Linked DNA regions of Homo sapiens: region 2 is linked to region 1. The links are contacts of gene promoters, found by promoter capture Hi-C in human tissues and cell types (Jung and others, 2019). All regions are on one chromosome and are shown on one strand. Each heading gives the region's core, a stretch centred on a gene start or on the middle of the fragment in contact. The rest is flanking DNA. Distances are from core to core; before and after follow the strand shown. Region 1 holds the start of CEP250 (centrosomal protein 250). Region 2 has its middle 36 kb from the start of NORAD.

Evidence for each region. The method cuts DNA at HindIII sites, captures the fragments that hold promoters and counts their contacts. A contact is called where the count stands out against the background at its distance.
Region 2: a contact is called between a fragment that was not itself captured here and the fragment with the promoter of CEP250 in region 1, in 3 of the 25 tissues and cell types used here (liver, lymphoblastoid cells and spleen).

The regions. Positions count from the first base shown.
Region 1 is chr20:35,452,571-35,457,478 of GRCh38, reverse strand. CEP250 (centrosomal protein 250) reads right to left here and starts at 1,881. Exons shown (of 35, transcript NM_007186.6): 1 at 1,728-1,881. MIR1289-1 (microRNA 1289-1) reads left to right here and starts at 3,382; the gene lies at 3,382-3,525. It also overlaps a transcript of GDF5 not described here. RefSeq lists a silencer at 2,087-2,466 and enhancers at 2,487-2,636, 2,897-2,946. The HindIII fragment of the contact is 9,261 bases long and covers 1-3,700 here.
Region 2 is chr20:36,084,928-36,089,835 of GRCh38, reverse strand. No RefSeq gene overlaps it. Among named protein-coding and RNA genes, the nearest start is that of NORAD, 36 kb to the right of the region's middle. The HindIII fragment of the contact is 7,451 bases long and covers 1-4,908 here.

The DNA of each region.
Region 1 (4,908 bases), core at 632-3,131:
GGTGGGAGGGCTGCTTGAGCCAAGGAGTTCGAGGCTGCAGTGAGCTGTGATCACGCCACTGCACTCCAGCCTGGGACAAGATGCTCAAATAAATAAATAAATAAAATACTATCACCTCTCCACATAACACTAGTACTTTTATTTACCTTACCATGCTTTTTCTGTCCCTATCTAATTATTATGTAATATACTTACCAAAATGCAAATTCCACAAGTGCAAAAGCATTGTTTTATCGAATGCTGTATTCCCAGCTCCTACCTAAAACACAGCCTGGTTTATAACAAGTGCCCATTATTACTGACTATTATAGGACATTAGGTAACATGATCCATATTATCACCAATGGTCTTGCAAAATGCTAACAGCTCTATTACCTATATAAAAAGCAAAAAAACAGGCTGGGTGTGGTGGCTCACAACTGTAATCCCAGCACTTTGGGAGGCTGAGTTGGGCAGATCATTTGAGGCCAGGAGTTCGAGACCAGCTTGGCCAACATGGCAAAACCCCATCTCTCCTAGAAATACAAAAATTAGCCAGGCACGGTGGCGGGCGCCTGTAATCCCAGCTACTCAGGAGGCTGAGGCGGGAGAATCGCCTGAACCTGGGAGACAGGATGTTCCAGTGAACCCAGATCGCACCACTGCACTCCAGCCTGGGTGACTGAGACCAGGTCTCAAAAAAAAAAAAAAAAGTGGGGGGAGGCATATAACTTATAGCTTGGTCAGTGGCAGAGCAATGACTGAACCCCAATCTGATTCCAAATTCTACACTCTCTCCATTACATTAGCTGTTAAAGCATGAACATTACATTAGTTAAAGCATGGACTACGAACTCACAGCTCTGTGAGGGGCACTTCTTAAATAGTGAGCGATAATGACACCTATGTCTGCAGCTTTCTGATCGAAAAGGAGCAAAGAAAGATAGAAGAACTAAAGGAACAGAGGGCGTACCAGTAGCCTTGGTTTTGTTGTGACCTCTATAAATCTGGGACCAGTTCTCCTTTCTAAGCCTTCGCGGTAAAATACTGATCACAAGCCTAGCCTCCAATAACTCCCAGGGCCAAAGTAAAGATCAATTCAACAGACGTTGATTAAACCCAAAGGCAATCTAGTCAAGTCATCAAATGCCCTGGGGACAGTTTCCCAGCTCCATCCACTTATTAGTTGTGGGACTCCTGGCAAATTACTTTTTCTATGAATACCTCAGTTTCTTCATGGGTAAAACGTGAAGCTATAGAAAGAACTCACCCCATAGGATTGTTGGGAAGATTAAATAGGCCTTTGGCTGAGCGCGGTGGCTCACGCCTGTAATCCCAGCACTTTGGGAGGCCGAAGCGGGCGGATCACCTGAGGTCGGGAGTTCGAGATCAGCCTGACCAACATGGAGAAACCCCGTCTCTACTAAAAACATAAAATTAGCCGGGTGTGGTGGCGCATGCCTGCAATCCCAGCTACTTGGGAGGCTGAGGCAGGAGAATCGCTTGAACCCGGGAGGCGGAGGTTGAGGTGAGCCGAGATCGCGCCATTGCACTCCAGCCTGGGCAACAAGCGCGAAACTCCGTCTCTAAATAAATAAATAAATGGGCCCTTATGTGTAATGCATTCAGTAGCACCTGACAATTTGTGATCATTCCGTACAGTAAGCCATGACTATTATCATCACGTGCTAGGCCCTGGGATCTAGAGATGAAAAAGGCAAGGCATAACATCTAACGAACGAGCTTACGGTGTCAACGAGGGGCCGGGAAAGTAACTCGGTGCACAGCGAGTGCAAAAACCGAGAAGCGAATGCAGCTGCGCCTGGAGAAGGCGGCTGAGAAGCGATACTTCAGCAGGGTCCTGAAGAATGGGAGCTCCAGAGTCGGGTGGCGGGTGGGACTGGGCTTTCGGATAGATTACGTGCAAATCCGCCAGGACACAGGGAGCGAGGGGCGGGGGGGCGGCAGAGCGCGGCGCCTCACCCTCCCAGCCTGGGATTGCGGCTACTGGACACGAGGGTCGGGAAGCTCTCCTTCGGCGCCGACTGGAGCTTAGCGTGCTGGCGGCAGCAAGAAGCTGAGGCAAGCGGGCCCCGGGCCCTAACGACGCGTCCCAGCCCCTCTCTGGGCCTCGGGTTCCTCCCGGGTAACAAGAGGCCGCTGCCCGAACGGGATTCCCTCAGGCGCCCTAGACGGGCGGGTCTCCGGGCCTCGGACGGTTAACCCGAGCACCTCCCACCTGCCCCTGAGGCCCCACCTCACCACGCTCGGCTCCCGCAGACGCCCGGCTAGTTGCTCCGCGATTGAGCTGCGGCAGCCGCTGCTAAGGCCCTGCGGGGGACGGGGGCGGAGCCCACCCCGAGGCAGAGGGCCAGGCCCCGCCCCCCCAAACTCCCGCCCTTTGGGAGGGGCCCGCCCCTCCAAGTCCTGCACCTATAGGCAGACTGAGCCGGCGCAGGGCCTCCCGCCATGTTGGGTATTGGCAGCCGACTTACTAGAGAGGCCCTGAAGGAAAGGGGGTATTATTTTAAGAATTATAAGATCCCTAGCCAGAAATGGGGACGGTCAGGGTCTCTGGATTCGCGAAAGGGACATTTCGGAAGCAGAAAAGAAAAATTGCCCTCAATCATTTCGCTTTTGGCTTCAGTGTTACATACAGCGCATGTGCAAGGTCACCTGGTTCTAGGTGCGCCTGCGCACAGCTCCACCTACAAACCAGACTACAATTACAACTGCCGAGAAACAAAGGGGCTCGCTGCCACTGGTTAGCGATAATACTGGCAGCGCGACCGGTTTCTGAGGGTTGTTCACCTTGCTGCTCAGACGCTCCGAGAAGCTTCAGGCAGCATAACACTTACAGGCGAGTTACTTACTCAACACTCGGTTTTGTCTGCATGTCTCTGCACAGAGTGTTACCTTTACCTGACTTAATCCGTCCCGGAGCTGCAGTTCTGCTTAAGCCTGACTTCTAGAGAACTTTTTCTTCCCAATAGGACCCATGCGTTATTCCTGTAGCATTTTGTGTATAAATTTTTTTTTTTTTTTTTGAAATGGAGTCTTGCTCTGTCGCCAGGCTGGAGTGCATTGGCACGATCTCGGCTCACTGCAACCTCTGCCTCCCAGGTTCAAGTAATTCTCCTGCCTCAGCCTCCCGAGTAGCTGGGACTACAGGCGCCCGCCACCACGCCCGGCTAATTTTTGTATTTTTAGTAGAGACAGGATTTCACCATGTTGGCCAGGATGGTCTCGATCTCTCTTGACCTCGTGATCCTCCCGCCTCGGCCTCCCAAAGGGCTGGGATTACAGGCGTGAGCCACCGCGCCCGGCCTTGTGTATAAATTGTTAATGCACTTTCTTAGAGTTGTAAACTCCATTTACCTGCCTCACTCTTGCACTCAGTGGTTCTCAATTTTTAGTAGGAATTAAAAACAAAACTGGTAAATGCAGACTCTTGGTTTCCACCCCCAGAGAATCCCTAAACCGGGGGTGGAGTCCAGGAATCTGCATTTTAGAAAGTACCCAGGGTGATTCTGATAATTGGGAACACGTTTTAGGAAGCGCTGCATGAGATTGTGAGCTTGAGCGTAGAGACTGTAATTTGGTCATCTGACTATAGCGCTCAGCACAAGGCCTGGTACAAAATAGGTGCTCAATAAGTGCTGAGTGAATGGGTGAATGAGTGGATAGCTCGAGTGAAACAGCAAGGCTTCAGGTTAATCCACAGCCAAAGGTAACCTGAGAAAGGAACGCTTAAAAGCTATATTTTATCTTTCTCCTGTAAGAACACAAAAAAGATCTTAATAGCTAATTTGAGAAATAGAGAAAGTGGAGAGTAAAAGGGGAAGGAAGGACACGGATTCTGAAAGGCAAACTATCTAGAGAGGGGAAAAGGAACATCTCCAGGCACTAGACAGAGAAAACGATGCAAAGAAGCAGTGGTGTGGGATTCCATCCTAGGGAAATAATCCCACAACAGGCATTGTGCTTGAATGTTCACTGCAACAATATTTGAAATACAAATGAAACAATCTAAATATTATGCACATCAAGCTCTTTTCTGCCTCAGGGCGTTTGCATACACTATGCCAGCTACCTAGACCACTTTTCCCCCAGCTCTTGGCCTAGCTGGTACCTTCCTGTCCTTCAGGTCCCAGCTTAAATGATACTTCCTCAACTAGGTCTTCCCTGACCATGCTATCTAAAGTAATACCCTATACTTTCTAGGATAGTCTTCTGTTTCTTTTCTTTTTGAGACGGGGTCTTGCTTTGTCGCCCAGGCTGGAGTGCAGCGGCGCAATCTCGGCTCACTGCAAGCTCCACCATCCGGGTTCACGCCATTCTTCTGCCTCAGCCTCCCCAATAGCTGGAACCACAGGTGCCCGCCACCACGCCCGGCTAATTTTTTTGTATTTTTAGTAGAGACGGGGTTTCACCGTGTTAGCCAGGATGGTCTTGATCTCCTGACCTCGTGATCCGCCCGCCTCAGCCTCCCAAAATGCTGGCATTACAGGCATGCGCCACCGCACCCGGCCGTCTTCTGTTTCTTTCATAGCACTTTCCATTTATTATTTTGTTTTCCTATTAACATTCCCTCCAAAATTTAAGCTTTGTGTGGATAGGAGACTTATTCCTGGGATTTAGCACAGTCTTACACACATGGTAGGTATCAAGTAAGTGTCCATTGAATGAATGAATCAAGTCAGCCCTAGTGTTACAAAGTTTAATGACATAACATCCATTAGCAAACTAGACAATATTTTTTAAGACTATGAGGAGTCGGCCGGGTGCGGTGGCTCACGCCTGTAATCCCAGCACTTTGGGAGGCTGAGGTGGGCAGATCACCTGAGGTTGGGAGTTCAATACCATCCTGACCAACAGGGAGAAACCCCATCTCTACTAAAAATATAAAATTAGCTAGGCGTGGTGGCG
Region 2 (4,908 bases), core at 1,381-3,880, 630 kb before region 1:
CAGAGTTGAGGCCAGGCGCAGTGTCTCATGCCTGTAATCCAAGCACTTTGGGAGGCCGAGGCAGGCGGGCAGATCACCTGAGGTCAGGAGTTTGAGATCAGCATGGCCAACATGGTGAAACCCTGTCTCTACTAAAAATACAAAATTGACCGGGCACAGTGGCTCACACCTGTAATCCCAGCACTTTGGGAGGCCGAGGCAGGCGGATCACGAGGTCAGGACTTCGAGACCAATCTGGCCAATATGGTGAATCCCTGTCTCTACTAAAGATACAAAAAAAAAAAAAAAAAAAATAGCCAGTTGTGGTGGCACGTGCCTTTAATCCCAGCTACTCAGGAGGCTGAGGCAGGAGAACTGGTTGAACCCAGGAGGTGGAGGTTGCAGTGAGCCGAGATCGTGCCATTGCATTCCAGCCTGGGCAACAGGGTGAGACTCTGTCTCAAAAAAAAAAAATACAAAATTAGCCAGGCGTGGTGGCGCACTCCTGTAATCCCAGCTACTCGGGCGGCTGAGGCAGGAGAATCCCTTGAATCCAGGAGGCGGAGGTTGCAGTGAGCCAAAATCACACCACGGCACTCCAGCATGGACAACAAGAGTGAGACCCCGTCTCAAAAAAAAAAAAAAAAAAGTTGGGCCAGCTCTGCCCTAGATGGATCACAGCTGGACCACCAAGCTCATTTGTGAGCCCCATATTCTTAGGGGGACTGGAGCATGTCTACAGGAGACCGGAACGTAGAGGACCTGGACGCCATGCTGTATGATGAATGATTTAAATAGCTTGGAGAAGGGAAAGCACAGAGTAGACATGGTGACTATCTCCACACCTCTGAAGGACTATCATACAGAAAGAGGATTTGCTTTGTTTCCTTTCGTTTAGGTCTAATCAACAAAACAAAAAATTCTGCATTAGCAAACTCCTAGGCCACCCTCTCTGAGGGAAGGATCCATATCAAATTTATATGCTGTTCTCCTCAGCACCTAGTCCATCCAGGACCTGGTTCCTATGAAACAATGACTACAGATTTGCTGCCAGAATGGATACGAAAGAATTCCATTGGCCAGGTGCTGTGGCTCACGCCTGTAATCCCAACACTTTGGAAGGTCGAGCAGGTGGATCACCTGAGGTCAGGAGTTCGAGACCAGCCTCGCCAACATGGTGAAACCCCGTCTCTACTAAAATACAAAATTAGCTGGGCGTGGTGGCACATGCCTGTAATCCCAACTATTTGGGAGGCTGAATGTCTTGAATCTGGGAGGTGGAGGTTGCAGTGAGCCAAGATCACACCACTGCGCTCCAGCCTAGGCAGCAAGAGTGAAACTCTGTCTAAAAAAAAAAAAAAACAAAAAGGGGCCAAGTGTGATGGCTCACACCTGTAATCCCAGCACTTTGGGAGGCCGAGGCAGGCAGATCACCTGAGGCCAGGAGTTTGAGACCAACCTGGCCAGCATGGTGAAACCCTGTCTCTACTAACAACACAAAAAAATTAGCCAGGCTTGGTGGCTCATGCCTGTAAGTCCCAGCTACTCGGGAGGCTGAGACATGAGAATTGCTGAACCTGGGAGGCGGAGGTTGCAGTGAGCTGAGATTGTACCACTGCACTCTAGCCTGGGCAACACAGTGAGACTCGGTCTCAAAAAAAAAAAAAAAAAAAAGAGAATTCCATCACATCACCTCCAGTGGGGGGATATCCAGGAAGACAATTTCAGCTCACTATAAAGAACTCCCTAACAGTTGGAGCTACCCAAGAATGGAATGGACCACCTTGGGAGTGATGAACTCCTTGTCAATATATGTATTCAAGGAAAGATTAAGTCTTCATTGGGAAATTGAACTAGGATCCTGGTGACCTCTCAAGTTGAAAAAATGGGCAAGTTCTATTAGGAAGGGAAAGACAAGATCAAAGCTGTGCTTCCAGACAATTATGTGACTGTATGTGTAGAAGAAATGGGTGGGGAGGGATCAGAGGCAGGCAGGACCAGTAGGAAACCACTGCAGTGGTCCAGGAGATAAAAGAATAGACTGGGGCTGGGCACGGTGATTCATGCCTGTAATCCCAGCACTTTGGGAGGCCGAGGAGGGTGGATCACAAGGTCAGGAGTTCAAGACCAGCCTGGCAAACATGGTGAAACCCTGTCTCTACTAAAAATACAAAAAAATTAGCCAGGCATGGTGGTGGGTGCCTGTAATCCCAGCCACTTGGGAGGCTGAGGCAGAGAATTGCTTGAACCCGGGAGGCGGAGGTTGCAGTGAGCCGAGATCACACCACTGCACTCCAGCCTGGGCGACAGAGCGAAACTCGTCTCAAAACAAAACAAAACAAAACAAAAAACAAAAAAAAAGAATAGACTGGGAGGCCATGGGAATGGAAAGCCAATGCAAGTGTGACTTGAAAGAGGCACTGGCACTAGGCTGGTAGTCAGGAGCTGCAGGTTCTAGTCCTGCCCCTGCCATTAACTTATTGTGTAGTCTCAGGTAAATCCCAGCCCTTGAGTAGATCCCTTCCTTTATTCAAATTTCAGAGATCCCATCTGTAAAATGCAGAATGATCTGCAATATCCTTCCTAACTCTGGATTCTGTGAATGGGAGAGAGATAATGAAGGATAACTGGGATGATGTATTAGAAAGCCTTCATACACTTCAAAGTAATAATATCATTAGTACAAGTACCATTGTTATTATTATTTCAAAGGCAGCCTCACCAGAACGTGGTGACTGGACTGGTAGGAGGGGACAGGACAGAGTCAAGTGGCCTGCATCTGTGGGTGGACAAGACACCAGGATCTCTGATCTTTTGGGAAGGTCAGCTAACCACTGTATCCCTCCCCCAAGATCTGTGAAGACAAACAGTATTCTGTGCCCTGTCACCTCATTAACTGCTTCCTCATTCCTTTGAGCCACACCTTATACTTGGCTAAAAGAAGCAACCAATTCTAAGAAAAGTTAGCCTCTGTACTCCCTCCTTTCAATGTTCAAAAATGGGTCCTCGTCTGGGACTTTCCCTATATAATAATAAGTTTCATCATCTCATATAGGAATAGCCAACATTATTGAGTACTTAGTATATGTTAGGAAATTTATTTACATAATTTTCTCACCCTGGGAGGTAGCTGTAATGGCTTATGAAGATCTATAACTTTCTCAGTCACATAGCTTATGAGAAGGATTCCAGTACAAGTCTGTGCGATTTCAAGGCTGCATTCTTAAAGATTTTTTTTTTTTTTTTTTTTTGAAATGGAGTCTTGCTCCATCACCCTGGCTGGAGTGCAGTAGCACTATCTTTGCCCACTGCAACCTCCATCTCCCGGGTTCAAGCGATTCTCATGTCTCAGCCTCCCAAGTAGCTGGGATTACAGGTGCCTGCCACCATGCCTGGCTAATTTTTGTATTTTTAGTAGAGATGGGGTTTCACCATGTTGGCCAGGCTGGTCTCGAACTCTTAACCTCAGGTGATCTGCCTGCCTCAGCCTCCCAAAGTGCTGAGATTACAGCCGTGAGCCACCCTGCCCGGCACCCTAAAGATTTTTACTATGTCTTTTTGTAGCAACTTAGGGAGGAGGGCAAGATCAGTGTTGTTGCCACTTTATAGCTGGGGAAACTGAAGCTCAGAGAAGGTAAATTCTGTCATTTGGACAAATTAGTAAAGTCTTCTATGGTGCAGTTTGGTGCTGTTTCTACTTCTCAGAGCTTCCTCCTCTGCACCTTCCAGGACCTCCCCAGTCCTCCTAGGAGTGATGAGTAGAGACTTGCCCAGACTACTTAAGGGAAGGACTTACACTTGTCCTTCTCCTGGGGAAGGGAAAGGTTCCTGAAAGGTGAAAGTTAATTTCCACCTCCCCTCCCCACCCACCAACTCACACACCCTAAACCAGGACCTTGTGGTGACCCGCGCTGAAGGCTTACAGAGTGAGTCATGCGGGGCTGACCTGTCAGAGTCACCCAAGCACAAGATACTAAGCTTAGTTTAGAGGGGTGGAAAAGTAGGCAAAGTGCTCTCATCCTCAGGAGCACAGTCCACTTGCAGCTTGTGCCCCTCACTCCTTTCATCCCAAAATACTGCAAACATTTGGGAACACTGTACAAGGGCCTTAGAGCAGAGGGAACACATGACAAATAAGAGTGAGTCCAAGGAGTTGAGATTGGAGTGGAGCCTTAAAGAGTGAATTCAGCACACAAATTAGGTAGAAGGGCCCTCCAGGCTGCAGGAATGCCCTAAAGCTTAAATATATTTGGATTCCATCTAACAGGCAGTAGGGAGCCATGGAGTTCACTATGGCTTTGGAGACTGTCTGAGTTTGAATCTGCCTCTGTCCCTTCCCAGTGGTTTGATCTTGGGAAAGTTACTCAACCCCTGTGGTTGACGTATTATTTTTCTCCATTATTTGCCCTTCCCTTGGCCAGTAAGAGAATTATCCATCCTAGCCAGTTGCCATGTGACTTGTGTACCTTCCAGAGGAAGGAGTGCACTTCCCCAGCCCATTGTCAAGCTTAACCACATGACTTCCTTTGGCCAATGAAATGTGAGCTAGAGAGATACATGCCAGTTCGAAGCAGAAACTTGGAGTGCCATTGCATGTTTGAGTCTGAAATCTTACTTTTTTATCTCTGCCACTGGAAATGTTGTGTCTTGGATAGGGCCTGCACCTTCAGCCTGGACCCTGGAATGAAAAGACACAGAGCAAAGCTGCAGTGAATCTACAGCTGTGATGTGTAATGTGATGAAGAAAGCAATTGGCTTTTTGTAAGTCACTGAGAGTTTGGGGTTGTTTGTTATCACGTCATACTTAGCAAATGCTGACTGGCACACCTCTCAACAGTAGGTGATTTTAGTAGCATCTACCTCACGGCACTGCTGTGAGGATTAAATAAGATTATCTCATGAAAAATGTCTAACCATTTCATCAGAGAT